4 separate regions of the Homo sapiens genome follow, and regions 2, 3 and 4 are each linked to region 1. The links are contacts of gene promoters, found by promoter capture Hi-C in blood cells and fetal thymus (Javierre and others, 2016). All regions are on one chromosome and are shown on one strand. The core of a region is centred on a gene start or on the middle of the fragment in contact, and the rest is flanking DNA. Distances in the headings are between cores, read along the strand shown. Region 1 holds the start of MYEOV (myeloma overexpressed). Region 2 holds the start of MRPL21 (mitochondrial ribosomal protein L21). Region 3 holds the start of LOC124902704. Region 4 has its middle 79 kb from the start of LINC01488.

Region 1 (6,888 bases), core at 1-2,500:
AGACCTATCGGGAGAGCTGGGGTGTATGTGACGCAGATTCTGAGGGCCATGAGCCGAGGGAAGGAGCCAGACGCTGTCCTAAGTGCCAGGGGAAGTTGTTAGAGGTGTTAAGCGTGGCATGACGTGGCTGGATTTAGGGTCTGAGATGAACTTTCCTGCTCCTGAATGGACTCTGAGGAGAAGGAAGATACTACCATCCGTAATCCACCCCGGGAAGGCACTGACCTCCTTGACCATGGGGAGGATGAGAGGCCGCCGCTCTGTGCCTGGGTCCCCATGGCCTCTAGGGTCCCTTCACGTTTTCACCTCATGATCCTGGAAGCTGGGACCTGCCCAAATCCACCGGGTGGCCCCAGCCTCCCCATCTCTGGGGCAGGGGGTGGGCAGCCTTCTCCTCCTGGTTTATAGCCACAGATGACTCCAGGCACAGTGGTCCTCAACCGCCTCTAGGGACCATGGGGACGGCTGCCCTCTGTGTGTGACGGTGGCTGGGCAGAAGCCAGCTGGGCTGTCGTGGGTAGGGCCTGGAGGCCTCTGGCTGTATGGTGGTCTAGCTTTGGCACCACCTTGGGGGGCTCCGGGTAGGAGGTGTCCACCAGAGGGGACCTGGGCAGCTCAGCAGAGGCTTGGTCACTCCCGAGCCGTCTGTGGGTCCCACTGGTCTGTACCCTCAACCCCACTGACCTGCACTGGTCATGCCCAGCTCTCACAGGATGATGGCCCCAGCCTTGTAATGAGTCACCTGCTGCCCTCCTGCCCCTCCAGCTGGTCCCCCACCCAGCAGCCACAGGGCTTTCCTTAAAACATAAGAAAGACCCTGCTTCTTACCTGCTCAGATCCCACCAAGAACCGGCCACCTCACTCCAGATAAACTCCAGACTCTTCACTGAGCCCAAAGGCAACGAGCAGAAGTGTCCAGAAATCACACAGAGCTCAGCAGGTGGTGAGGCACCTGGACCCGAGTCACCCAGCAGCTGAACAGGCCATCCCTGAGGCCATGCACGCCCCGGCCCTGCAGGTGTGACGGCCGAGGCTTCCACGACGGGGGGTGAGTGGGAGCTAATATGGCTGGTGAAAGCACTGGGTTCAGTGGGGATGGCATCTCCCGCCCTCTGTCCAAGGTGGGGAAAAAGTCAGCTTCAGGTGAGGGAGACCCTGGACGCCTGGCTTTGGGCTGATTCCCCACTCACTTGGCCTCTCCCAAGCATACTTTCCTGCTTTGTAGGGATGTGGGTTCGCGGGACAGTAACAGGAGAATCAAGGCAAGAACTCAGAGGGGGATAGCCAAGGTAGGCGGAGCTGCCTGGTGGGTGGGACTAACCCAGGTGGGTGGGGCTGCTTGTGAGTGGGGCTAGCCCAGGTGGGTGGGGCTGCCTGGTGGGCAGGGCTTTCTTCCCCGTCAACATTTCCCTCTCTCGGTTAAGGCCAGGGCAGAGCCCACACATGGGTGTGCCCAACCTTAAGGCCTGCCCTGGGTGAGTTAAGACTCCCCAGCTCACCTAGGTCCTACCTGAGGGGAACCTACACGGCCAACCTCCTCAAGGATCCTGAAGCCACCCAGAAGACAGTGGGGCTAGGGTGCCATTCATTCATTCATTTATTCATTCACCTATTCATTTATTTACTCGCTTCACCACCCTTTCCTGGGTAATATTAAGAATAACAGTGGGCCTAGGAATATAGAACATTCTTAGGGGTTTCTTGCAGGCCAGGCACCCTAAGAAAAAGTTATGTAACCCACGTGGCCTCGCTGTGAGGGGGACGACTGCTGTCCTCACTTAATAGATGAGGAGCTGAGCCATGGAGGCCTCACAGCTGGGCAGCTGGGGGTGGACCCCATAGACTGGAGGGGGATGGGCAGGGGCAAGGAGTTCTGCTGGCCCCAGGCCTCTTGTACACATCTTGGGAAGTACTAAAAATGAGTACTTGCTCAAGTCCCTCTCTTCATTGAGCACAGGGAGCTCTTGGCCCTTCCCTCCTCCTCCCTTTACCCTCACCGCCCAATTCCACACGGGTGTACTGAGCACTTGCTAAGGGCCAAGACCAGCACTAGGTGGAGCACACAGTAGGAACCCAAGGCAGCCCTCCCTGCCCAGCTCTCCAGGACACTGTCGTCAATGCCAGCGGGAAGCATAGAGAGGCCAGGGAAAGACGGGCAGTCAGGAGGAAGGAGCCAGCGGAGGGGAGAGAGGGCCGGCAGCTCAGTGCACCTGGACCGTGGTGGATGCTGGACTATGACCAGAGACAGGGCTGCAGCCCAGAGCTAGCCCCAGACCCACAGGGCCTCAGGGGGCTTCACAGGCTTTGTCAGGGGTTTGGACTTTCTCCCGAGGGCTGGGGACCCTGCAAGTTGCAGAAACTGGGCTATATTTGGCATTTTAGAAGCCTCCCCCAGCTGTAGTGGAGGGGAATTGGAGGGAGTGGGAGAGGAGGTTCCCATTCTCACTCAGGTGGGAGATGGTGGTGGGATGGAGGGTGACCCTGATTGATAGGACTCAGGGACAAATTAAAGGTGAGGGCCAGGGAGAGGGTTATCCAGACAGCTCCCAGGAAGATGGCAGTGGGATGGAGGGTGACCCTGATGGGACTCAGGGACAAATTAAAGGTGAGGGCCAGGGAGAGGGTTATCCAGACAGCTCCCAGGAAGATGGTGACACCAGTGAGGTGGGGAGATAGGATGGCATTTGGTTCCCACTGAGCTGGAGATGCCTGTACAAAGCTTCTAAGATACCCAAGGCAGAATCTGCAGCTCCTGCAAAGACAAGAGCTCTGCTCTGCCTCCAGGGAATCAGGGGAGGTCTCCCCAGTGCCCTACTGGGACCTCCAGAGACCCTATGCGAGCCTCCCCCAACCCAACCACCAGCCCATCAGCGCCACCTACCGGCTGCTCAGGGCAGGCACTCAGCAACTTGCTGAGGGCAGATCCTGATGTGTCCCCGTTTTACAGATGAGGAAACTGAGGCCAGGAGACAAGATGACGCCTGTTTGAGGTTACGTAGAGGTGGAGGTGGCATAAGACCTCAGTTCTTCCTGGCAGATCCTCTCCAAAGAGCCCCGTCTGAGAGCAGATGGAAGGAGGTGGTGTCAGGAGATACCTTATCTTACTTTTGTCTGCTGTCAGCATTCCAACAACCCTAGATTATTTTGGCACCCCGCAGTGTCACTCAGTCTCACCATAGCCTCACTCTAATTATCAAAGCTCATCTTTTGGGCTGATATCTGCTTCTGGGACTCCCAGTAGCCCACCTGGGTCCTGCTGGGGAGGACTGTAGAAATCTGACTGCCCCAGGTTGATTTTCTCCCTCTGTCTTCAACATTCAGATTGCCAGCCCACCTGTTAAATCATGATGAGTTGGTGATGGTGATGGTGATGGTGATGATAGTGATGATGGTGATAATGATGGCGTTGATGATGGTGATGATAATGGTGATGATGGTGGTGATGGTGATGGTGATGATGGTAAGGATGATAATGGTGATGATGATGGTGGTGATGATGGTGATGACGGTGATGGTGATGATGGTGGTGATAATGATGGTGATGACGGTGATGGTGATGAAAGTGGTGATGATGGTGGTGATGATGGTGAGGATGATAATGGTGATGATGGTGGTGGTGGTGATAGTGATGATGATGATGGTGAACATGGTGAGGATGATAATGGTGATGATGGTGGTGGTGATGATGGTGATGATGGTGGTTATGATGATGGTGATCATGATGGTGAAGATGATAATGATGATGATGGTGGTGGTAATGATGGTGATGATGGTGGTCTGATGATAATGTTGGTGATGATGGTGATGATGGTGGTGATGATGATGGTGATGGTGATGATGGTGGTGATAATGATGGTGATGGTGATGGTGATGATGGTGATGATGGTAATGATGATGATGGTGATGATGGTAATGGTGATGACGGTAATGATGATGATGCTGGTGATGATGATGATGATGGTGGTGATGATGATAATGGTGAGGATAACTTGTACTGAACATGCACCACATGTCAGTAGTTTTCCCACACTATTTCATTTAATCCTCATGACAACTTTATGGCTAGGACTACTGTTATCCCCATTTTACAGAGGAGGAAACTAAAGTGTACAGTGGCTCAGTCACATAGCAAGTTAGCAGTGGAACCTAGGGGCACCCAGGCAGTTGCACCAAGACCTGCTCCTAACATTACCCTATACTGCTTTTGGCTCAGCCTACAGAGCTGTCTTTGTGACCCCTTCTCTGACACTCCTCCTCTGAGCCAAAGGGCAGCTCCTCCCATCATCCATATCAGTCTGACTGCTCTTTCGCAGTAAGACACAATGAGGAAGCCAAAGACTCTAAAGGGAGGGGCACAGGGATGCCAGTTTCCCTCAGAGCACTGCCAAGGAGGGACCACAGCTCCAATGGCGTGGGCATATGATGTTCCACCTGCCACAACTCCATGCCCAACTCTCCTGCTCTGAGGGATCAGGCTTGGCCCTGACCCTTCTGCCTGTGAGCAACTGGTGAGCAGCCAGCCCAGGTTGCAGCCACCAGCATGTGGGCACTGGTCAGCACAAGGCATGTCTCCTGTCCAGTACTCAGGGCCTCGCTGGCCACAGTTGGACTCTGAAAGATTCCTGATGTGGACTCAGATGTGTTTGAGCCTAAAAACATGCTTTTCATTGGTCCCACCCTACTTCAAACAAAACAGAAGCCTGGGTTGTTCTAAAAAACCATGCACAGCTGCATCATCTATTGCCCAGGCCCCAAGGGTCAGGTTCTACCAAAATTTCTACCTGCATGATCCCATTTAACCTTCCAGCTGCCCTGCCAGTGGCCCTCACTCCATTTTACAGATGAGTAAACTGAGGCCCAGAACAGTCATGCTGCCTCTTCAAGGCCATAAGCCGTTGGAGATCAGAGCCAGGATTCTGAACCAAGGCTATGTGAAGCCAGTGGCCCTCTCCATGCCCCACCCCAGCCCAATATGGTGCGATCTTCTTGGGAAAAGTAAGAACTGATGCTGAATTAATTTTTAAAATTGTGGGAGGCAGAATTCTATGATGGTCCCCAGACCCACACCTCTGGTATACATGCCCTACATAGTCCCTGCCCCTGTGAATATGATGAACACTCTATGATAGGATTGTGTTTGATGGCACTGTTGACTTGTTCATTTTGAGAAAGGGACACTAACCTAATGGGCCTGACCTCATCACATGAGCCTTTTACAAGTAGGGTGTTTTCTCCATCTGGTCCTCAAAGTGGAAGTCGGGAATTGGACGATGAGAACCACTGCTGATTTGGAAAATGAAGGGGACCACATGGCAAGGAATGTGGGCAGCCAAGGGAGCTGAGAGTGGCCCCAGCCAACAGTCAGCAGGAAACAGGGACGTCAATCCTACAGCTGCACCTGCAAGCAACTGCATTCGGCCAACAACCCGGATAAGCGTGGATGCAGACTCCTCCCCAGATCCCCCAGAAGGAGCCCAGTCTGCCTGACACCCTGATTTTCACCACGTGAGACCACGAGCAGAAGACCCACAAAGCAGTGCCTGGATGTCTGACCTGCAGCACTTTGAACTTGCAACTGGGGTTGTGGTAAGCTATTGAGTTGGTGGCGATTTGTTATGCCGATAGATAACTAATACGGGTATGCCTGCAGGTGGTCTCCGGGGGATCTTTGAAGGTCATGGCCAGTGGGGCCTTTCCTCAGGAGGTTCCTGAGGCTTGGGTTCCTCCTGGGATGGGGGCAGGGGAGCCGGTTGCCTCTCCACCCAGACCTGCTTGGGTGCTGCAGAATTAGCAGGTGCCACAGTGAGAGCATGAGCTGTGGAGAGCAAGAGGGAGGCCTTGGTTCAAATCACTGCCTTGCACCACCTCTCTGGGCCTCCCGTTCCCCAACAGTAAAGCAAGATGGATGCCAGCAAGTTGTGAGTGAGAGAGTGAACTAAGTGATTCATTAAAAAGTGCGTAGCTCAGTGCCTGGCACAGAGTACGTGTTTAAGAAGCCCTGGGTGGTGATCAGATGCTGATCTCGACATTGTGTTATGATTATCACACACATGACAGAGGGTGTCCAGGCCAAGCCCTATAGCACTGAAATAGGTACCTGCCTCTCTGCCTTGCTGGCTGGCACCCCAAGTAGGAATTTCTCCCGCAAGGAGCAACACAGAAGGCTGGCTGGAGGCCCCTGCTGCTCCTGGGGCAGAGAGGGACCCTGTCCATTCACACTGGTAGAGCCACCTACCAAGGTCCTCCAGAGCCTTGCAGAGGGGTTGAAGAAGGCATTCCTTCAACAATTGTAAAAGGTGCATTTTAGAAACCAAGAGGGTCTTGCTTCTGTGAGTCGGGACTGAGGGTGAACTGGACACCTGGCCCTGTGCCAGCACTGTCAGAAACAAAAAGGAACCAAATCCCTGTTTCCATGCATTCTGGGAGAGAGACTCAGAGACAATGGCTGGCAGGGGATGGGCACAAAGGTGAAACTCAGTCGTTCTGTGATGGGCCCCAGGAATGGAGCAAAGGAGAGAGATTCTTTGCATACAGGTGGTTTACAACACAGTAAACATCTCAATGCAAAGCATGGGGCTTTCTCAGTGCAAAGCATGGGGCTGTCCGAGACGATGCCGGAGCTCGGAGGAGCTGGGCCAGGGAGGGCGGGGGGCTTTGCTGTCAGTGCTGCAGAGCTAGCAGAAGCTTTCCAGGCTGCGCAGGCAAGAGGAAGCAGCCCAGGCAGAGGCAACAGGTGGATGCAGAGGCCGGAGCAGACACGGCAAGTCAGGGAGCTTCGGCTGCTCAGCATGAGTCATGCCCACCTCCCTGGGTCAGAAGCCCCTGGACCTTGCTTCCGGACAAGATTCGTGTCCCAACTTTGGTCCCTTCCAAGACTTACTCAGACGA
Region 2 (6,888 bases), core at 488-2,987, 390 kb after region 1:
CAGAACAGAAGACTAGCTCCTTAGCCAGGCCCTTCCCAGGCTCGCCCTGCCAGTCTGCTCAGCATCCTCAGAAAGAGCCACTGCCATGGGGGCTGACTCTGTCCTTGGCACCACGCTGAGCACCTGACTGACAGGGGATCGTTTCATTCTCAGAGCAAGCCTGTGAGGTGGGAATCATCCCAGTTTTACAGATGAAGTAAGTAAGGCTCAGAGACAGAACCTGCAAAGTCACACAGCCATAAATGAAACAGCTGGGATTCTAAGAAACTCAACATAACTGCAAAAGCTCTCCATTGCCATGATCAAAAGCATCTCAGACAAATCCTACCCACATATGGCTGACTGCAAACTCTGGAAGCAGACTGCCTGACAGCAAATCGGGCTACACTGTGTCACCCCGGGGCAAGTTACTTAACCCCTCTCTGTCTCCATCTCCTTAGACGGAAAATGACAGTAACAGAAACCTACACTGCGGCCGGGCACGGTGGCTCACGCCTGTAATCCCAACACTTTGGGAGGCCAAGGCGGGCAGACCACGAGGTCAGGAGATCGAGACCATCCTGGCCAACATGGTGAAACCCTGTCTCTACTAAAAATACAAAAAATTAGCAGGACGTGGTGGCGCGCCTGTAGTCCCAGCCACTCAGGAGGCTGAGGCAGGAGAATCGCTTGAACCCGGGAGATGGAAGCTGCAGTAAGCCGAGATCGTGCCACTGCACTCCAGCCTGGGCGACAGAGAGAGACTCTGTCTAAAAAAAAAAAAAAGAAAAAGAAAAAAAAGAAACTTACACTGTAGGGTTGGCATGGGATGAGGTGTAAAAGAATTAACGCATGGAAAGTACGTAAGTGTTAGCTCTGATTGTTTTGGACAAGTAAATAGTCCCATTCGGAAACAAGCCCGGCTCTCACATGGCTCCCCACACCTCTCAGGACGGCTCCCCACCCTACTCCGCACCCACCAGCTTAACTCCAATTTTCCTTCAGGCACCACTCCCTCCTTGAAGCCACCATGACCCTCCCCAGGGAAGGGCCTTCCTCCTCCAGGCTCTTTCCCCGCGACACGCACGCAGCCGGCCCTGGACGCACTGGAGGGGAAGGGACTCTCTGCTTATGCCCAGCCCGCCGCTGGCCGGATCGGGGGCAGCCAGTGCACCTGACTCATGCTGCCGGGGCCTGACTGAGAATGGGCGCAAACCATGTTTACTGAATGAATAAGGGAAAGGGCTGCTAACTCGCTGCGGGTGGAACTGGGGTCGGGGCCAGGGCCCAGGAGTGTAAGCTTAGTGGGGGGTCTCGGGTCGGGAAATCAAAGTGCTTCTTAAGGGTCCCCAAACGGAACGCGCTGCCCAGGAAGTGATGAGACTGACAACTCGGGAGGTGGCCAAGCAGGGGACGGACGATCCCTGCCCCTGACTCGAAGGGTCGGAGACGAAATTCCCGCCCCAGACTATGAGGCCGAGCCCCTCGGAGACTCTGCCCGGGACACGGCGGGACCGACCGCGAGGGAGCGGCGCCGGCGGCCTCCCGTACCTGCGCTCCTCCACCTCCGCGTCTCTCTCAAGCTCCAGCAGGTCCAGTTGCTTGGTCACGAAGCTCTCCACAGCTGCCGAGGCCATCGCCGCCGCCGGCCTGGGCCCCTAGAAGCCGACGTCCCGCTTCTGCGCCGGGCCGGTGTTACAGCGGACCGGTGTTCCCCGCCGGGCCCGTGCGTTACGCACGCGGTTCGCGTCGTTTCCGTTTCCGGCCGAGGCTGCGGCCATGGCAGCATCTTCCCTGACGGTCACCTTAGGGCGGCTGGCGTCCGCGTGCAGCCACAGCATCCTGAGACCTTCGGGGCCCGGAGCAGGTGAGACCTGGGATATGGGAGGAAGGGAGGACGCAGAGCGAGCGCTGCTCCCTGCGGTCTCGCCACGTATGTGCCTGGGTCCGACCTGGTGCCTTGTGTGTTGATCGCATTTGTGGTGAATATAGCACGGGTTTTGGAGTCGGGGGAACCCAGGTTCAGATTTTGATTCCTTCAGTTAGTAGCCTGAATACTGACAATAGCCCTTGAACTTTGGTATAGGCCCTATGTTATGGGGGAGAAGAGTGAGGCTCAGAGGAGCTAGGTAACGTGCCCAGGGTCACACAGCGGGGAAGTGGAAGAAGAGTACTTCAGGCGCAGTCATTTCGGCTCCAAAGCCTGTGCTTGAACCACTGCCCCCAGGCTGCGAGCTGGTCTGAAAAATGGTGATGGATATCCTCGCCTAATCTGAACTCATTCTGCAAAAGAAACAGCCGTATTTAAGGCGCTGGGCTGATACGAGGCTCCAAAAAGGTTATGTCCGTTAAAAACTCTATAAATCTCTGCTTGAAAATGGTTGGAGTGTGTATTTGTGTGCATGAGTGTTTATGTATGTTTTAAACCTGGGTTTCATGTCTCACCATGACCCCCAAAAATGGAAAACTGGATCTAACTCTATATTGGACGATATTAAAAGAATAGTACCATAATTCCCAAAACTTGGAAGCAACCCAGATGTCCTTCAGGAGATGAATGGTTACATAAACTGTAGGACATCCATACAGTAGAATATTATGCAGCAATAAAAAGAAATGAGTCATGAAGAGACATGGAGGAAACTTACATACATGTTACTAAGTAAAAGAAGCCAACCTGAAAAGGGGACATCTTGTATGTTTCCCACTATGACATTCTGGAAAAGGCAAATCTAAGGAGACAGTAAAAAGTTACATGGGGGGTAAGAGGATTGGGGGAGAAAAGGATAAATAGGTGGAGCTCAGAGGATTTTTAGGGCAGTGAAACTATTCTGTATGATATAATGGTAGATACATGTCATTATAAGTTTGTCCAAATCCATAGAATGTACACTACCAAGGGTGAACCCCTAATGTAGACTATGGACTTTGGATAACAATGATGTGTCAATGTAGGTTCATCAATTGTAAAGATTGTACCACTCTGGTGAGGGATGTTGATAGGAAGCTGTGGGCACATGGACAGGGGACATATGGGAACTCTCTGTACCTTCCACTCAATTTTGGTGTGAAACTAAAACTGTGCTAAAAAATAAAGTCTATTAAGAAATTAATAATAATCACAGAGTTGGGCCAGAGGCAATGTAGATGCCAAAATTGGCCATGAGTTGGTAACTGTTGAACCTGGAAAGGGATAATTGAGAGAGTTCACTATTCTGTTCTCTTTACTTTTGTATGCTTGACATTTTCCATAATAAAACTTAGGTTTAAGTAGGCAGGAAAGTTTTTACAAAAGCAGTGGGACTTACTCCATTCTACCTACCTACATGAAACCACCCCTCCAATGCTATGTTCAAGTACAGACTCACGCATTAGGAGAGAAAGACACACAGTGAAGCGAGTAGAGACAAGGTGACCAAAACAGTGAGCAGCTGGGGCCTTGAAGAGTGAGCAAAGGAGACGTGATGGAAGTACACAGTCACAGTCTCTAGGACTACCTAAAGGAAATCCTGTGGGAGAGGAAGGAGACTGTTTGTTCCCTGGGGACCCAAAAACAAAGCTAGAAGCAAATTAGGTACAGAAGCCTGCTAAGTTTTTAATAGTGGGATGGATTTGCCAATGGGTTGACTGAGTAGTGTGCGAGAGAAGAGTCAAAACTGATGGAGGTTTGGGGCCTGAGCAACTGGGAGGATGAAGTTGCCCTCATGTGAGAGGGAGGAGTGTGGGAGAAGCAGGCATGGGAAGAAATGAGGAGCCTCTGGAGGTGTGAGGTGCTCGTCAGACACGAGTGGCTAAGGCAGATAGATAGGTGGGTATGCAAAACCAGGAGAGAAGCCCTGGCTGGAGGTGTAAACTTGGGAGTCACCAGCACATTGGGGGTGTTTAAATCCATCGGACTGGATGCAGTCACCAGAGGAATGGCCATGGGCGGAGAGGAGGTCAAGGCCAAGGGTTGAGCCCCGGATGCCCAAATGGGAGAGGAGAGGAGAAAGCAGCCGAGGAGATGCAAATGGGGAGCTGGTGCTAATGGGTGAACTTTAAAAAGGTGGTTTTTATGGTGTGTAAATTATAGCTGAGTTTCTTTAAAAGTGGTTATTGAGAAACTGTTCTCTGCTTTTTACACCTAAGCACTTATTTTGATCCCCTGTCTTCTCAGTAGATTGAATGTCTTTGTTTCCTGGTGTATTCCTGGTGTATGCGTTATCTACGGTTACATCAGAAATTACCCCAAAACTTAGCAGCTTAAAACATTTATTAACTCACACCAGTTCTGAGAGCCAGGAACACAGAAGCAGCTTAAGTGGCTGGTTCTGGCTCAGGGTCTTAGCTTGCAGCAAGCAAGTCTGCAGGGGCTGTAGTTATCTCAAGACTCCACTGCGCCAGCGGCTGGAGAATCTACCTGCAAGGTCGTTCCCATGGGTGTTGGCGATAGGCCTAGTTCCCCGCCATGTGGACCTCTAGGTAGGGCTGCTCACAGCAGGGCAGCCCTAAGGCCAGAGATCAGAAAGGGTGAGCACAGGCATCCAAGATGGAAGTCCCAGTTGGTTATCACCTCATCCCAGAAGCCACGTGCTAGCATGTCTGTCACTAGCTGTTGGACACACAGGCCACTCCCAGGGGGCTAACAGGGGTAAGAATAGCAGGAGGCGGGGCCCAGCAGGGCCATCTTGGAGGCTGCTCCCACGCTTGGGCACAGATCAGAGTCTGAACCTACCAGGCACTTAGTCAAGGCATGAGTTAGTGGACGGGTGGTTCTGGTCTCAGGCGCTTGTAGATGATGTGGCTAACTGATCTCAACACATATAACCAGTAGCTGTAAGTGACGTTCTTGTAGTTTTGCTCACCTAGGTGTTTCTGTGGGCAGGCTGTCATGCAGTGGTTCATACCATGTACCAGGAGCAGCAGCTGTGCATTTAGCATCATAAAGGGCAGTTTGCATTTGTAGTATTAATGGTAATGATCTGTGTTTCTCTTCTTCCCTCAGCCTCCCTTTGGTCTGCTTCTCGAAGGTTCAATTCACAGAGCACTTCATATCTACCAGGGTAATATCAAAATGTGGGTTTTGGTGCCTCTTTTCCTTTCATTTGTAGAACCATCTTTCTAAAGTCAAAACTTCCTACCTTTTGGTTCTCAATAATATTTAAATTTCCTCTTTTGTTTTTAAGAGACAGAGTTTCACTATGTTTCCCAGACTGGTTTTGAACTCCTGGCCTAAAGTGGTCCTCCCGCCTCAGCCTCCTGAGTAGCTGGGATTACAGGCATGCACCACCACTTTCAGCTTTAACTTTTTTGACGGTATTTTTCTGAGACCCTTAAAAGAAGACGTAACTGCAAGAGACCAAAGAGAAATTCTGTATGTGTTTGCTCTCTTTTATTATGGAGGAGCTTGAAGTCTTAACTCAAGATTTCTGATGAGGAAGTTTGTATCAGAGTCTCTAAGAGAAACTCATTATTTGAAAAAGCACATTCAGTGTTAAAATTTTATACTTGAGAAAACATTTTTAGGTATCATAAACTGCAGAAAACATTCGACAAAGTTCCACTCACTGGTGGGAGACACAGGAGCAGTGCAGGGATAGCAGTTACTGTAGGGACCCCCCCGGGGTGCAGTTCCGGCTGCCCCTCACAGCCTGGGACGCCAGGCTTCTGCAAGATGGAAGTAATGTTCATTTCTATCTGCATGGGTGTTGGAGAGGATTAAGTAAATGTATACATTTAAAGCTCTTAGAACAGTGCCTGGCATACAGTCAGCACTCACAAAACATTGGCTGCTGGAACTGCTGCTGGGACTCCAGGGATCCTCTGCAGTGGGGAGATGTGGGAGTCTTTCTTGCTTCTCAAAGAAGCGGCAAAACATTCTGAGCATAGGAAGAAGTTGTAAGTGAGCATGTGGGTAGGTTGTGCCTACTACCCCTGTGTCCTGTGTGAGAGGTTAGCACCTTCCTGCCAGCGTGTTCTTCTCACACTGGGCACTGCTGAACCCGTATGGGGAGACTAGACATCAAACAGGTCAAAGACGTTTTGTAGAGAGCAGCACCTTCCTTGTCCTCCTTGTCTCTCAAGGTCATTGACCAACCACAGATCACGGAGTTCATGTCTCTAGGAGCTCCAAGCCCTACCCCACTGGGAAAGCATTCATTCCTCTCCCAGATTGGTGTGGAGCCCCTCCTGCGCGCCAGCCAACAGGACGGGTGGGCCTGGTCTTTGGTGTGGAGGCCGGTGCATTTTGCATATGGAGCAAGTCGTTTTCTTCCTCCTAATGCAACCCTGGAGTAGAAAGACTGAAATTTTACTTTGCAGTGGCAGCAGCAATAAAAGCTTAAAAACGGTTCTGAATAATTCGGTTTGGGATCTACCTACCCTCCCTCTTTGTAGACTACAGAAAGAAAGACCCCACCTCCTTTTGAATCTAGGCCCCCCTCTTTCTTTCCTCCCTTCCTCTCCCCTCCACCTACCTGAGGCTGAGCAGGCAGGGGAGAGTTAGGAAATGAAGAAGATCTTGGGCTGGGCACGGTGGCTCATGCCTGTAATCCCAGAATTTTGGGAGGCCGAGGTGGGCGGATCACTTGAGGCCAGGAGTTCGAGACCAGCCTGGCCAATGTGGCGAAACCCCATCTCTACTAAAAATACAAAAATTAGCCAGATGTGGTGGCATGTGCCTGTAATCCCAGCTACTAAGGTGACTGAGGCAGGAGAATCGCTGGAACCCTGGAGGCAGAGGTTGCAGTGAGCTGAGATCATGCCACCGCACTCTAGCCTGGGTGACAGAGCGAGACTCCGTCTCAAAAAAAAAAGGCATTGCCCGCACCAAGCTTGGCATCCTGAGGGTGGGGAGGGGAAGTGGCTGGGGACCGCAGTGCTATAGCTGCTGAGACTGAGCACTCCTAACACCCGACCCTCACTGGCCAT
Region 3 (6,888 bases), core at 3,220-5,719, 360 kb before region 1:
CCCGGCTGAGAACAAGTCTAGTGGTCACAGTAAGTGGCCAACTTCAGGCTTGATGGGGCGCAGCAGGGCTTGAGCAGGTTGCATGAACGATTCGCTTCCTGAGGCCGTTATTTTAGACATGTCTTCTTCGTCAATGCAGAGGCTTGTTTTTCTGGGAATTTGCAGCCTGTCTTCAGGACCAGTCTTGCATCTGGCACAGCAGTCCCCAGCCTTTTTGACACCAGGGACTGGTTTTGTGAAAGACAGTTTTTCCATGGACAGGGCTTGGTGGTGGGGGATGGTTTGGGGATGAAACTGTTCCACCTCAGATCATCAGGCATTAGATTCTTGTAAGGAGCACGCACCTTACATCCCTCACGTGTGCAATTCACAATAGGGTTCCCGCTCCTATGAGAATCGAATGCCGCTGCTGATCTAACAGGAGGCGGAGCTCGGGCGGTAATCTTCTCTTGTCTGCTGCTCACCTCCTGCTGTGGGGCCCGGTTCCTAACTGGTCATGGACTGGTGCCGGTCCACAGCCTGGGGATGGGGGACCCCCTGATCTAGCAGACTGAGGCCAGATTGAGGCAAAAGCAGATGAATTTATGGAAAAGGATCCATGCTGGCAGCCTGTAGGAGAGGCAGTGCCTGGATGGGTCTTTAGCTGCCCCAGACCCCGTGAGCAGGTCTCTCCTAGCGACGCCTCTGGCACTTTGGGAGCCCAGGGGAGGGGAGGGAATGAGAAGGTGGGCAAAGGAGGAGATGACCTTCGTACTGAGCTTTGCGAGCGTTCATCTGGCCTCACAACACCGCGGAGAAGTCTCTCCCACTCTACCTGAAAACGCCAACGTAATCTGGAGATACCAAAAAGTGTCATGATCACGCAAGCTTATCCTAATTCCCACCGTTATTCTGGTCCTTAATGAATCAAATGAGGAACTGGTTTGTGACTCAGGAAACTGAAGTCACAGAGTTCTTAAGATCTGAGAAAAATGGGTCACTGTGTTTGGTGCTTCACAGGACACGGGGCCTGCAGGCGAGGAGCCAGGCCTCAAGGGTTCAGTGAGTTGTCCAAGCCAGCGTGACTAAGGGTTCCGCTGGGACCTCTCAGATTAACTTCCAAGAAGGAAAGCCGCTCCTTGCGCATACACTTTTTCTTAACTCTCCCCGGCTGGTAAACTCAGGTGGCATCGAGGCCTTGGCGTCTACCCCTTGGTGACACCCCCATCAGGATAACGCCTTGGCTGTGTCTCTCTGGCACCCTTTACCAGAGCAGCTGGGCTTGGGTTGCAGGGATGGAAGCCTTTATCTCAGGCGATACCTGAACATGTAGAGTATGTGATGCTTGCTGAGCTAGAGGCTCATGGATTGATGTCCCTCTGCTGGTTCCAGTGAGTATGTGCCCCTGAAATTCGAGGGGACTGTGGAGGCTGCTTCCAGGCTTTGAGAGCCCAAGTCTGTTGCAAATTGAATTGTATCCGCAAAAGGAAACGTTGAAGTCCTAGCTTCTGGTACTTTAGCTTCTGTGACTTTACTTGGAAATAGGAAATAGGGTCTTTGTAGATTTTTTTAAGATGTAAATTGGGCCAGGCGAAGTGGCTCACGCCTGTAATCCCAGCACTTTGGGAGGCTAAGGTAGGTGGATCACGAAGTCAGGAGTTGGAGACCAGCCTGGCCAACACAGTGAAACCCTCTCTCTACTAAAAAGAATAATAATTTAAAAATTAGCCAGGCATGATGGTGGTGCCTGTATTTCCCAGTTACTCGGGAGGCTGAGTGAGGCAAGAGAATCACTTAAACCCGGGAGGCGGAGGTTGCAGTGAGCTGAGATCACGTCACTGCACTCCAGCTCAGGCAACAGAGCAAGACTTTGTCCCCCCCCAAAAAAAAAGATGTAAGTTAAGGTGAGGTCATACTAGAGTAGGGTGGCCCCTTCGTCCAATATGACTGGTGTCCTTTTAAGGGGACGGGAGCCAGTGGCACAGAGGAGAGACTGCCACGTGAAGACATGGGGCCGATAGCCCTGTGAGGACAGAGGCCGAGTTTGGAGCTGCGCATGGACCAGCTGAGAAGAGCCGAAGGTCGCCCGAAACCACCAGAAGCTGGGAGAGAGCGGGCACTGCAGACACTGCTGGCCTCTGGAACTATGAGAGAAATGTTGGTTGTTTTAAGCTGCTGAGTGTGTGAAAATTCATTACAGCAGCCACAGAAAACTACAAGGCCCCTCTCCCTGCCTGGGCTTCGTTTGCTGGTCTGGAGGGTAAGGGTGCCGGCCACACCATCCAGACACTTCTGGCCTTGCATGTGGGGCCTCCTCAGGGATTTGCCTGGACTCCCCCAGGTCTCAGCCGCCACTGAGGGCAAGTGGCGGGAGCCCCCGAAAGGCGCTGTGACCGCAAGGCTCACTCTCCAAGAGGCCTCTGCCTTCTGGGAGGCGCAGCTGCCCTGCACAGAGGACTGAGTCAGGGTCCACCAGAGAAGGCTGGCTTGAGCCTCTCCCCTGGTCTCAGCCCCTGCAGGCACTATCCGGCCTCAGAACTTGGGATATGGATGTGGTCAGGCCCTTTCTCCAGGTCAGTTTGGTCACACGTGTGCTCTGTTACACACAGAGTGTGTGCCATGGAAGAGGGACCTGTCCCTTCAGACAGAGCAGTTCTAGGCATACTTCTGGGCACTGGTGGCCCCAAGAGGAGTCATTCCCTGACCCTGTGGAACTCCCAGCTAAGCAAGACAGGCATGTTGAAATTCCAAGATCACATGGTAACTTTGTCAGTCGCTCCTGTTGTTTATATCAATCATAACATGTTAGATCTAGAAGAGGTAGAAAACACACACAAGCGGCCGGGTGCGGTGGCTCACGCCTGTAATCCTAGCACTTTGGGACGCCGAGGCGGGTGGATCACGAGGTCAGGAGATCGAGACCATCCTGGCTAACACGGTGAAACCCGGTCTCTACTAAAATACAAATAATTAGCTGGGCGTGGTAGCGGGCGCCTGTAGTCCCAGCTACTCGAGAGGCTGAGGCAGGAGAATGGCGTGAATCCGGGAGGCAGAGCTTGCAGTGAGCCGAGAGCAGGCCACTGCACTCCAGCCTGGGCGAGAGTGAGACTCCGTCTCAAAAAAAAAAAAAGAAAACACACACAAGCTGTAATAGTTAAGTGTCTTTGAAAACCAAATGACACAGTGCCCATATCAAACTGACTTAATGAAGGACAATGATTGGCTTCTGGAACAAAAGGGGGATGACTTCAGGAGAGGCTTGATCCAGCAGTTTGTCTGGAGACCCATTCCCTGCTTTCCCTCAGGGCTGGCCTTACGCTCAGCCTCCCCTGTGAGGTCCTGGGAGCAGCTCAGTCTTCCCTTAGGGCTGCAGGGGGGCAGTGCCACCCCTGGGCTTGTGTTTCCCTGCTGGGAATCCTAAGGAAGGGGGAAGCATTATCTTTTTCAGAAGCTCCAGAAAATGTCTCCTCAAGACTCAATGGCTCTATTTGATTTCTCACCCATCCATTAACTTGCTGCTCTTCTGGTGGGTGTGGATGTGCAGTTGGGTTTCAGCCTATGAAGACCTGGCCTGGAGCTGGGGATGGGTTCGGTCCCACTCAAACCACAGATCTGGGAATGGTGGTTCCCTGGAGCAAAGTCTGGGTGCTGTCAACACCAGGAGGGGGCATCCGTGGTGTCAAGAAGACCCAGAACTGTCTACTTAATGTGCCAAAGGAGGGAAGTAAGATCGGCTTTGGTGCCACCACCCAGGCGGCCGCCGTGGCATGGAGGCCTGTGCTTCCAGACCTGGGCAGTGCATGGAATGCTGATGGTGATTATGCGGATGCGCCGAGGGGATGATGGCGTTCCCTGAGTGATCACTGCACCCCAAGCTCGGTGCTCAGCAGTGCTTCACACACATTGAGCCATAGAATCCTCAGCACCCCAGAAAGAATTCAGTTATTGACAGAGATTTATGGAGCCCCCGTTCTGTGCTGGTCGTTGTCGTGAGTAGGAGATGGAGACGACTCCCCATCATGGGCTGTGTTCTTGCAGGATTTCCCCATGTTATAGGTGTGAACATTGAGGCCCAGAGAAATGAGGCCGCACAGCTGGAAAGCTGCAGATCCGAGATCCAACCCCAGGGCCTTTTACTCCAAAACGTGTGTGCTTAATGTGTGCCTATACATGCCGGTGAGTTTTCTTTTTAAACAGCTGGTCACCCTCAGATGTCCACTGCCGGCCTGTTTGGCTGCCCTTCTCCAGGCCAGCAGCCAAGACACAGTGCCGCCCGCAGGGGCAACCTACTGGGAGCCTCGAAACAGGTGGAGCTGGCGAAGCAGGGCCCTGAGCTGTGTGCGTGGGGCCTGGCTGCAAATGGCCCAATGAAGCCTCCGTGCATTTCCCTTTTTGAAGCTTGAGCCTTTTCTTCTCCATGAGGCTGACCCACCAGGCTGGCTTGGTCACACACTAGCTGTGCAGTCCTGGCTCAGTTACTTTACCTCTCTGGGCCTCGGTTTACTCATCTACAACAGGGGTCGGCAAACTACCACCCTCAGCCTGAATCCAGTCTGCTGCCTATTTTTGTAAATAAAGCTTTATTGGCACACAGCCATGCTCACTCATTCACAGAGCGGCTGCAGCTGCTTTTGCACAGGGCAAGAGAACCTGTGGCCCACAAAGCCTGAAGCCTCTCTCTGTGGCCCTTTCCAGAAAACCTGCCAATCCCTGACCTAGCAGATGGGATGATTGTGTGCGGGAGAGTGTAGGCTCTGGGAGGGCAGGGCTGTGTCTGTGGCTGCCACCAGAGTGTCCCCTCCCTGTCACCAACCCATGGGGTCGTTGCAAAACTCAGAGAGAAACTGTGTTCGGTGTTGAGCACAAGGCACACAGTGCGTGCTCAGTAACCTCCAGCTGCGATTCCTCCCGTGATTAAACAAAGGCAAGGAGGACTGCCTCGACAGGCTCAGAGGGCCCAGGGTCTGGAATAGGAGCTGATCCTCGGGTTAGACCACTCAGCTCTTAAAGTGGCTGCCGGTTGAGAGGCTTGTCTCAGCTGCCGCTAGGTGCAAATTAAAAGGATTAATGGACACCGCCGTCTTTGAAAGGCTCAAGGCCCACCGAAGCCCCTTCAGCAGAGGGCTCTGCATTCTCTCTTCCCCAGCCCTCCTTGTGTGCCCTCGTGAGTGGCGGTGACAATGCTCCCGGATGTGGGCCCCAAGGCCAGCGGCCCCAGAGCTGCCCGCCCACCCGTCCGCCTGCTATTGTCTGCTCAGGCCTGGCGGTGTGGCGCTGGGCTTGTGGGGCCCTGGCGGGCAGGGGACTGTGGGAACGGATTAGAGGTCCTGGGCTTGCTTTCCTCGTCTTGCATAAACTCTTGATCAAAGACATTCCTGGGATGACAGAGCCCTGTGAGCTGCGAGGCTGGCCCAGAGTGCGGGACGCACACCCCACGCTGCAGCCCCTGCACAGGCCTGCCCTTGCTGGCCCTCGCTGGCCCTGGCTGCAGTGCTGACTTTGGGGACTAGCCTTATGGTGGGACTGGTGATAGAGCGGGTGCCAGCAGGCAACACAGCCTTCCCCACCAGATTCAGAGGCCAGGCCCCCAATGCTGGGCAGAGCGAGGCTGTGACTGCTTCCTGGGGTGCTTCAAGGAGGGTCACGCTGCATGCAGGGTAGCCGGAGGGATTGCCGGATGCATGCCACTGCCACTGGACCTGGCTTCTCTGGACTCCCATGGGCAGTGCACCACCCTCTGCACAGCCCTAGCCACTGTTATCCCACAAGCGCGGTCCGAAGTCCACGTGCCCACTCTGCCCAGCCTCCTTCCTCTGTCCCCTCAGGGCCTTTCACTCCTTGTGACAACTCTAGGTGCTGTCTGGGCTCCTGGGGAACCCCCGACCCTTCCAGCCATGGAATCAGCTCCCGGCATGCGGGTCAGGCTGGACCCATGGCTCTGCACCTCAGCCCAGCAGCTTGGGGCTGCCCTGTAGGAGCCGACACGACCTCCCTTCCATTCGGCCCCCTTCCTAGGACCCACTGTATGCCAGGGTGGGGAGACGGAGGCAGAGAGAAATCTGGGAGATTTCCGTCCTGGAGGGGCTCAGCCAGAGCAGGAAGGTGCCCAGGCATGACAATCCCAGACTCCCAGAACCACCTGCCTGCTGTGGGGTGGGGAAGCCCTCAGAGAGCCCATCCTTACAGTCAGAGCAGAGATGAAGGTTCCTGTGGACCGAGGCGGTGGGCCAAGCGCAGAACAGGAAGCTGGATGCAGTCTGGTGTGTCAGGAGCTCCTGGGCAAAGACATCGAGCTTATTGGGGTCAAGGCTGGGGAGAGATGGGGCTGAGTCCCAGGGACCTTGGACGGAGCTGAAGGGAGATAGGAAGGCTGGGGGTTGGGGGCAGAGGATGAAGAATGGATGAGGACTGTCTGGCTGCAGGGAGATGGGCCAGGAGGCAGGGCAGGTAGGGGTGGCGGGCGTGTGAGGACAGGCTTCTGCGAAGGGGCTGCAGGGAGAGCTGACTGCGGAAGGCTTTGTCTCTGAAGTTCCTCAAAGGTCAGTTTTTACCATCACCCTCTGGGTAGCGCAGATACTCCAACAAGGGACGAGGTCTCCACTGAATCCCAGGAGGGGTTGCAGGCACAGAGGTGATGTCAGTGGAGTTTGAGAGTTGGGAACAAGGGCCTAGAGTGGCCAGACGATGCCTTTGATATGGTTTGGCTGTGTCCCCACCCAAATCTCATCTTGAATTGTAGCTCCCATAATTCCCACGTGTTGTGGGAGGGACCCGGTGGGAGGTGATTGAATCATGGGGCAGTTTCCCCTATACTGTTCCCATGGTGGTGAACAAGTCTCAGCAGATCTGATGGTTTTATAGGGGTTTCCCCTTTCACTTGAGTCTCATTCTCTCTTGCCTGCTGCCATG
Region 4 (6,888 bases), core at 2,882-5,381, 270 kb before region 1:
TTTGCCATAGTCTGTGATACCGATCAGCCCTTCAAAAGACCGAGCTGGGTTTGTCCAGTGGTTGAATGATCATCAAACAGTGAATGATGGCAGAGTTCTTATGGGCACTTTGGACCATGGGCTGCGGCATGGCCTGGTGGATAAGCATTTGGGCTCCATGTGGCCTTGGGCAAGAACTTTGACCTCTTCGAGTCTCAGTTTCTCCATCTCTAGAATAGGGATAATAATATATGTGCCTCCTGGGCTGTTGAGGGAATTCAACCATACAATGTAGGTGGAGTTCTTAGCACAGCATCTTGCACAGAGCAAAGGGTCGTAAATATTTGCTACAGATGAAGGTGACTGTTGGGCTTTTTGCATTTGCTAACTTATTTATCAATTGCTGCTCCCCTCTTGTTGGTCCCTCTGGCCATTGCAATATGGGGCGGGCCTTTGCCCAAACTCCCAGCCAGGTCCCTGCTCCAAACACCCAGATCCCAGCCTCACTACTCCGGAACCTCCTTTGCATTTCAAATCCCAGGGCCATGGCTGGTGTGTCAGGAGATAGACATTGAGGATGAAGTTTCATTTGCTTCCCTCCTCTGCAATCCTGGGAGCTGCCATGATGACACAGAGGCCTTTCAGGGGTCACGCCTGGCCCCCCATTTCTTTCCCTTTGTAACTGGGCTCCTTTGTCAGCACAGGTCCCATTCTTTGGAGAAAAAGTATGGTTAGGCCCATGGACTCTAGGTCTTTGGATGTTCCGAGTTCTCTTCATGTCCTGGGTAACAAAGTCAGCATGTGGACAAGGCCCCCAGAGGATGCAGGGGCAGTCTTGATTTGGCTGGGAGGTTCCCAGTGACTCCAGAGGCTCTTGACTCAGAGGGACCACAGCAACAGACCCTGAATGGGTGGCACTGGTGACTGTCCTGGGTCATGATCCATGAAGGCAGTGGGTCCTGCGAGAAGGGAGACCCTCCCCAGCCCCGACCTGACCCCTGACAGCAAAGGCACAGAATCCAAGAGGCAACAGCACTGAAAGGTACAAAGGGCCCCCCCACCGGCCACAGCCCTGCCCTTGACCCGGGAGGGGAACTGGGGTTTCCTTTTTAGGAATAGTAGCTCCAGCATCCTCAGGGTATAGGTGGATCCCCAAAGAGGTCTAAATAATGCAACTAGACCCCAATGAGTGCATGTCAAGATACCTCACTGAGGAAGAAACATCTTGAGGTTTTGGGAAAATGGAGCCAAAAGAGGAAAAAACAAAAACATAGCAGAGCAAAACATGGAATGACCATGTGACCAGCAGTTCCACTCCTAGGTATATGCCTGAAAGAGCTTAAAACTGGTGTTGAAATAACACATGTACACAAATGTCCACAGCAGCACTGTTTACAGCAGCCAAAAGGTGGGAACAGCACAAACGTCCACCAGTGGATGAGCAGATCAACAAAATGTGTTCTGTCCATAGGATGGAATATTATTCAGCCATGAAAAAGAAATGAGACACTGATACAAGCATACCTCATTTTATTGTACTTCACTTTATTGTGCTTCACAGATGTTGTGTTTCGTATAAATTGAAGGTTTGCCACTCTGAGTACAGCAAGTCTATTGGTGCAATTTTCCCAACAGCATGTGCTCACTTTGTATATCCGTGTCACATTTTGGAAATTATCGTGATATTTGAAACTTATCATGGCCTGTAAGTGTTCAGGCGAAAGGAAGAGTTGTGTACCTCTCACTTTAAATCAAAGTTTAGAAATGATAAAACTTGGAGGGGAAGGCAGGTTGAAAGCTGAGCTAGGCAGAAAACGAGGCCTCTTACACCAGTTAGCCAAGTTGTGAATGCAAAGGAGAAGTTCTTGAAGGAAATTAAAAGTGCTTCTGCAGTGGACACATGAATGATAAGAAAGTGGACCAGCCTTATTGCTGATCTGGAGAATGTTTGAGTGTTCTGGATAGATCAAACCAGGCACAACATTCCCTTAAGCCAAAGCCTAACCCAAGGCAAGACCCTAACTCTCTTCAATTCTTCTTTTTTTAAATTTAATTTATTTTAATTTATTATCATTATTTTTTGAGATAGAGTCTGGCTCTGTTACCCAGGCTGGAGTAACAGTGGCAACACAGTGGCTTGATCTTGACTCACTGCAACCTCTGCCTCCCAGACTCAAGTGATCCTCCCACCTCAGCCTCCCAGGAGTGGTGGCAGCCTTGTGCCACCACACTTGGCTAATTTTTGTGTTTTTTGTAGAGATGATGTTTCACCATGTTGCCCATGCTGGTCTTGAACTCCTGAGTTCAAGCAATCCACCCACCTTGGCCTCCCAAAGTGCTGGGATTACAGGCGCGAGCCACCACACCCAGCTTTCAATTCTATGAAGGCTGAGAGATGTGAGGAAGCTGCAGAAAAAAAGAAGGAAACTAGCGGAGGTTGTACATGAGGTTAAGGAAAGAAGCCATTTCCATAAAATAGAAGTGCAAGGTGAAGCAGCAAGTGCTGACGGAGAAGCTGCAGCAAGTTATCCAGATGATCTAGCTGAGACCATTGATGAAGGTGGCTACACTAAAGATCAGGTTTTCAATGTAGACAAAACAGCTTTCTAGTAGAAGATGGCATCGAGGACTTTCACAGCTAGAGAAGGAGAAGTCAAAGCTTCAAAGGACAGGCTTACACTCTTGTTAGAGGCTAATGCAGCTGATGACTTTAAATTGAATCCTACACTCACTTGCCATTCTAAAAATTCTAGGACCCGTAACAATTATGCTAAATCTACTCTGCCTATGCTCTATAAATGGAATAACAAAGCCTGGATGACAGCATATCTGTTTACAACATGGTTTGCTGAATATTTTAAGGCTACTGTTGAGAACTTACTGCTCAGAAAAAATATTCCATTCAAAATATTACTGTTCATTGACAATGCACCTGGTCATTGAATCATGTGCTCTGGTAGAGACGTGCAAGGAGATAATGTTGACATTAATGTAATCATACCGGAAAGCATAACATCCATCCTGTAGCCCACAGATAAAGGAGTCATTTCAACTTTCAAATCTTATTATTTAAGAAACATCTAATGTGTCTCACAGGACTATTGCTGCCTTAGATAGCGATTCCTCTGATGGATCTGGGCAAAGTAAATTAAAAACCTTCTGGAAAGGATTCATCATTCCAGATGCCATTAAGAACACTCATGATTCATGAGAGAAGGTGAAAACATCAATACTAGCAGGAGTTTAGAAGTTTGATTCCAACCCTCATTGTTGACTTTGAGGATTTCAAGGCTTCAGTGGAGGAAGTCACTGCAGATGTGGTGGATATAGTGAGAATTAGAATTAGAGGTGGAGCCTGAAGAAGGGACTGGGTTCCTGCAATCTTATGAGAAAATTTGAATGAGTGAGGAGTTGCTTCTTGTGGGTGAGCAGAGAAAGTGATTTATCGAGATGGAATTTACTCCTAGTGAAAAGTCTATGCCCACTGTTGAAATGACAACACAGGATTTAGAATATTCCATAAATTGAGTGGATAAATTGAGTGGATAAAATTGGAGCAGACTCCAATTTTGAAAGAATTTCCACTGTGGCTAAAATGCTGTCTAACAGCATTGCATTCTACAGAAAAATCTTTCCTGAAAGGAAGAGTCAATCATCAAGGTAGCCAACTTCATTGTTATCTTATTTTTACAAATTGCCACAGCCACCCCAGCCTTCAGCAACCACCACCCTGATCAGCCAGCAGCCATCAACATCGAGGCAAGACCTTCCACCAGCAAAAAGATGACAACCCGCTGAGCGTTCAGGTGATTGTTAGCACTTTTTGGCAATATTTTAAAATTAAGATATACATTTTTTAGGCCAGGCATGGTGGCTCATGCCTGTAATCCTAGCACTTTGGGAGGCTAAGGTAGGCAAATCACTTGAGCTCAGGAGTTCGATACCAGCCTGGGCAACATGGTGAAACCCCATCTCTACAAAAAATACAAAACTTAGCTGGGTGTGGTGGCACACACCTGTAATCCCAGCTACTAGGGAGGCCGAGGCAGGAGAATTGCTTGAACTTGGGAGGCAGAGGCTGCAGTGAGCAGAGATCACGACACTGCACTCCAGCCTGGGCAACAGAGCATGACATGTCTCAAAAAATAAATAAAGAAAGAAAAGTTAGACACAAAAGACCACATATTGTACAATCCTATTTCTCTGAAATGTCCAGACCAGGCCAATCTATGGAGACGGAGAGTAGATTGGTGGCCTCCAGGCTGGGGGTAGGGTGTGTGATTGCTAATGAATGGATGTTTCTGGAGAGGGTGATAAAATGGTTTGGGACTAGACAGTAATTTTTCACTTTAAAATGGTAAATTTTATGTCATATGTGATTATCATCTGAATAAAAGAGAGAAAAAACGCAGAGCAAGAGCATTTGAAGAGAAAACAGGAAAACGCAGGATCTCTTTATGGGTGCATGGCCTCTTTTTGCCCATTTTAGGGGAGTGTGGGGCAGGACCTCTGAGAACAGCATATGAGTCGCTGGGAGAGCCTTATTGAGCAGGAACTTCCTTTGTGGGAACCCAGGGCTATCTGTCTGGCCCATCTCAGCTGCAGATTCCAAGGCCCCTTCAGCCCCAGGGCTCTTTCTCCAGTGAAGGGTCCTCGCCTTGGACCCAGGAATGACAAAGAGCCGGGGCTCTGAGGCTGCTATGTGTGCCTCTATCTTCCCTTTATGTGTTGGCTTGGCCCTCCTAAAAAGCCTGTGACCACTTCCTGACCAGGTGAACCCTTTTTGACCAGACACAGCTACTTAAAATAAGCCTTTAGGTACACGGATGGAGGTCTGCTGGCCGAGGCTGGCATTTGCACACTTCATTGCAGCACTGGAGAACTGAGTCTTCTTTTACTCAATTTTTCATAGAAATAGGCACATTCCCCATCCCTTCCCCTCGCCCCCACAACCCCTGACGCTCAGCATCCAGGGCTGATCTGAGAGGGACCCGGGAGGCAGAGAAACCCCAGAGCCGTCATTTCCCAGATGTGGCATTATGTGTGAGCCTAGGTTTGTGTTCTTTTAACGGCACCACATAAAGTCGCTTTAGGAAAGTCTTTATTCTTATCATGTAACCGGTAGATCAAAAAGCATCCTCATACTTACAGGATGTGATGTGACAGATAACCGACAGATGTGGTGGTGGGAGAGGCTGTGGGAGCGGAAGGAAAATCAGAGAAAGAAAAGAGAGCGCTTTGTTGGGTTCGGGGTGTTGTTTCACCCACGTGAAACAACAAGAAAAGGCCCACGTGGCCTTAGCTTCTTTCTAGTTTGAGAATGGGTTGTTATTTCTAAGACATAGGCAAGGAGCAGAATGTGGGAGGAAAAAGTCAGAGATTTCCACTGAACCTACGAGACCAAACAAGAAAGCGCTCGATGACAGTGGTGAAAGCAGTGTTTGGGGTGCCTCTATCCACCAGATGCAGCTGGTTCATATGGGGCCCTTTCCTGGACCCCACAGGAGACAGGTGGCCAAAGGATCTCAGACTAACGCATCCAAGCGTGCCTGGTTTGTCCTTAAGGAGGCCTAGGGAATGAGTTACACTGGCACAGAGTGAATGAACAAGCTAAGACCGCTGCCCAGTTAGACTCGTAAGCTTACTTTACATGGTGTAGATACTAAGAATAGCCAACATTTATCAAAACATCTTCTTTCTGCCGAACGCTCTCCTGGGAGTTTTCCATGTAGTAGCTGATTTAATCAGCTCAGCAGCCCTCTGGGATGGGGGCTTGCATTAGGGACATTTCACAGACGGGAAACTGAGGCAGAGAGGGGTGAGGGGACTTGCCCAAGGTTATGGTGGGAAAGCAGTGGTGCTGTGATACATGTAAAAATCAATGAGAAAAATTATATTATGCTGCAAGTCCCAAACCGCACCCAAAATAATCACCGAATAATGATACAGATTGGGCGTGGTGGCTGACGCCTATAATCCCAGAACTTTGGGAGGCCGCGGCAGGTGGATCACTTGAGGTCAGGAGTTCTAGACCAGCCTGGCCAACATGGAGAAACCCCATTTCTACTAAAAATACAAAAATTAGCCAGGTGTGGTGGCATGCGCCTGTAATCCCAGCTATTCGGGAGGCTGAGGCAGGAGAACAGCTTGAGCCCAGGAGGCAGAGGTTGCACTGAGCCAAGATCGTGCCACTGAACGCCAGCCTGGGTGACAGAACAAGAGTCTATCTCATAAAAAGCAAAACAAAACAAAAAATGATACTAGCAATAACTGCCAAATGCATTTAGCCTTTGCTGTACCCAGGCACTGGGCACCCTGCCTTTCTCACTGAGTTTACTTAGTGCAGACAGGCTTTAAGTAAGGTGGGAAACTAAACCCCCCATATAGAGGAGGGAATGGAGGCCTCAGAGCAGACGGACCTGGAATGGAGTCTTGCCTCCTATGTTTGTGGCCCTGTTTCCCGGGAATTGGAAATGGTGCTGTAAAGTGCCTGGTATGGGGAGGTGAACCTGCAGGCCGGTATTGTTGTGACTTCGCTCTCCCTCTTGGTAGCAGCCACCGTCAGTGTGTTCAGAAGCATCCAGCTGCCATGTTTTGGGTACAGTTCCCATGTCTTCTCCAAATCCCATGTTGGAATTAGACCCCCAAGCTTGGAGGAGGGTCCTGGTGGGAGTTGTTTGGGTCATGGAGGCGAATCCTTCATGAATGACTTGGTGCGTTCTCCTGGTAATGAGTGAGTTCTCACTATTAGTTTGTGTGAGAACTGATGGTTGAAGATCTGGGCCCTCTGCTCTCTCTTCCTTCCTCTCTCGCCAGCTTCCCATTGCCTTCTGCCAAGGTGAGTGGAAGCTTCCTGAGGCCTCACCAGAAGCAGATGCCAGCACCATGATTCCTGTACAGCCTGCAGAA

The links. Contacts are between HindIII fragments. The CHiCAGO score rates a contact against its expected background, and 5 or more counts as called.
Region 2: the fragment with the promoter of MRPL21 here is called in contact with the fragment with the promoter of MYEOV in region 1 in 3 of 17 cell types (monocytes, activated CD4 T cells and M0 macrophages); the score reaches 7.5 in monocytes.
Region 3: a contact is called between a fragment that was not itself captured here and the fragment with the promoter of MYEOV in region 1, in 8 of 17 cell types (M1 macrophages, M0 macrophages, endothelial precursors and 5 more). The highest score is 11.7, in M1 macrophages.
Region 4: a contact is called between a fragment that was not itself captured here and the fragment with the promoter of MYEOV in region 1, in 1 of 17 cell types (activated CD4 T cells). The highest score is 5.5, in activated CD4 T cells.

What each region holds. Positions count from the first base shown.
Region 1 is chr11:69,288,517-69,295,404 of GRCh38, reverse strand. MYEOV (myeloma overexpressed) reads right to left here and starts at 1,250. Exons shown (of 3, transcript NM_001293291.2): 1 at 829-1,250; 2 at 1-172. The coding sequence starts at 50. RefSeq lists enhancers at 2,128-2,679, 6,494-6,888. The HindIII fragment of the contact is 5,042 bases long and covers 1-2,721 here.
Region 2 is chr11:68,898,681-68,905,568 of GRCh38, reverse strand. It overlaps MRPL21 (mitochondrial ribosomal protein L21), which reads left to right and starts at 1,737. Exons shown (of 7, transcript NM_181514.2): 1 at 1,737-1,846; 2 at 4,964-5,021. The coding sequence starts at 1,759. It overlaps IGHMBP2 (immunoglobulin mu DNA binding protein 2), which reads right to left and starts at 1,678. Exons shown (of 15, transcript NM_002180.3): 1 at 1,531-1,678. The coding sequence starts at 1,616. RefSeq lists enhancers at 1,196-1,255, 1,586-1,705, 1,137-1,864. The HindIII fragment of the contact is 5,018 bases long and covers 1,282-6,299 here.
Region 3 is chr11:69,656,657-69,663,544 of GRCh38, reverse strand. It overlaps LOC124902704, which reads left to right and starts at 5,630. Exons shown (of 1, transcript XM_047427985.1): 1 at 5,630-6,347. The coding sequence starts at 5,630. The coding sequence ends at 6,334. RefSeq lists enhancers at 1,690-2,190, 2,191-2,691, 5,071-5,798. The HindIII fragment of the contact is 180 bases long and covers 4,380-4,559 here.
Region 4 is chr11:69,557,079-69,563,966 of GRCh38, reverse strand. No RefSeq gene overlaps it. Among named protein-coding and RNA genes, the nearest start is that of LINC01488, 79 kb to the right of the region's middle. RefSeq lists a cis regulatory region at 3,342 and an enhancer at 3,270-3,414. The HindIII fragment of the contact is 2,981 bases long and covers 2,641-5,621 here.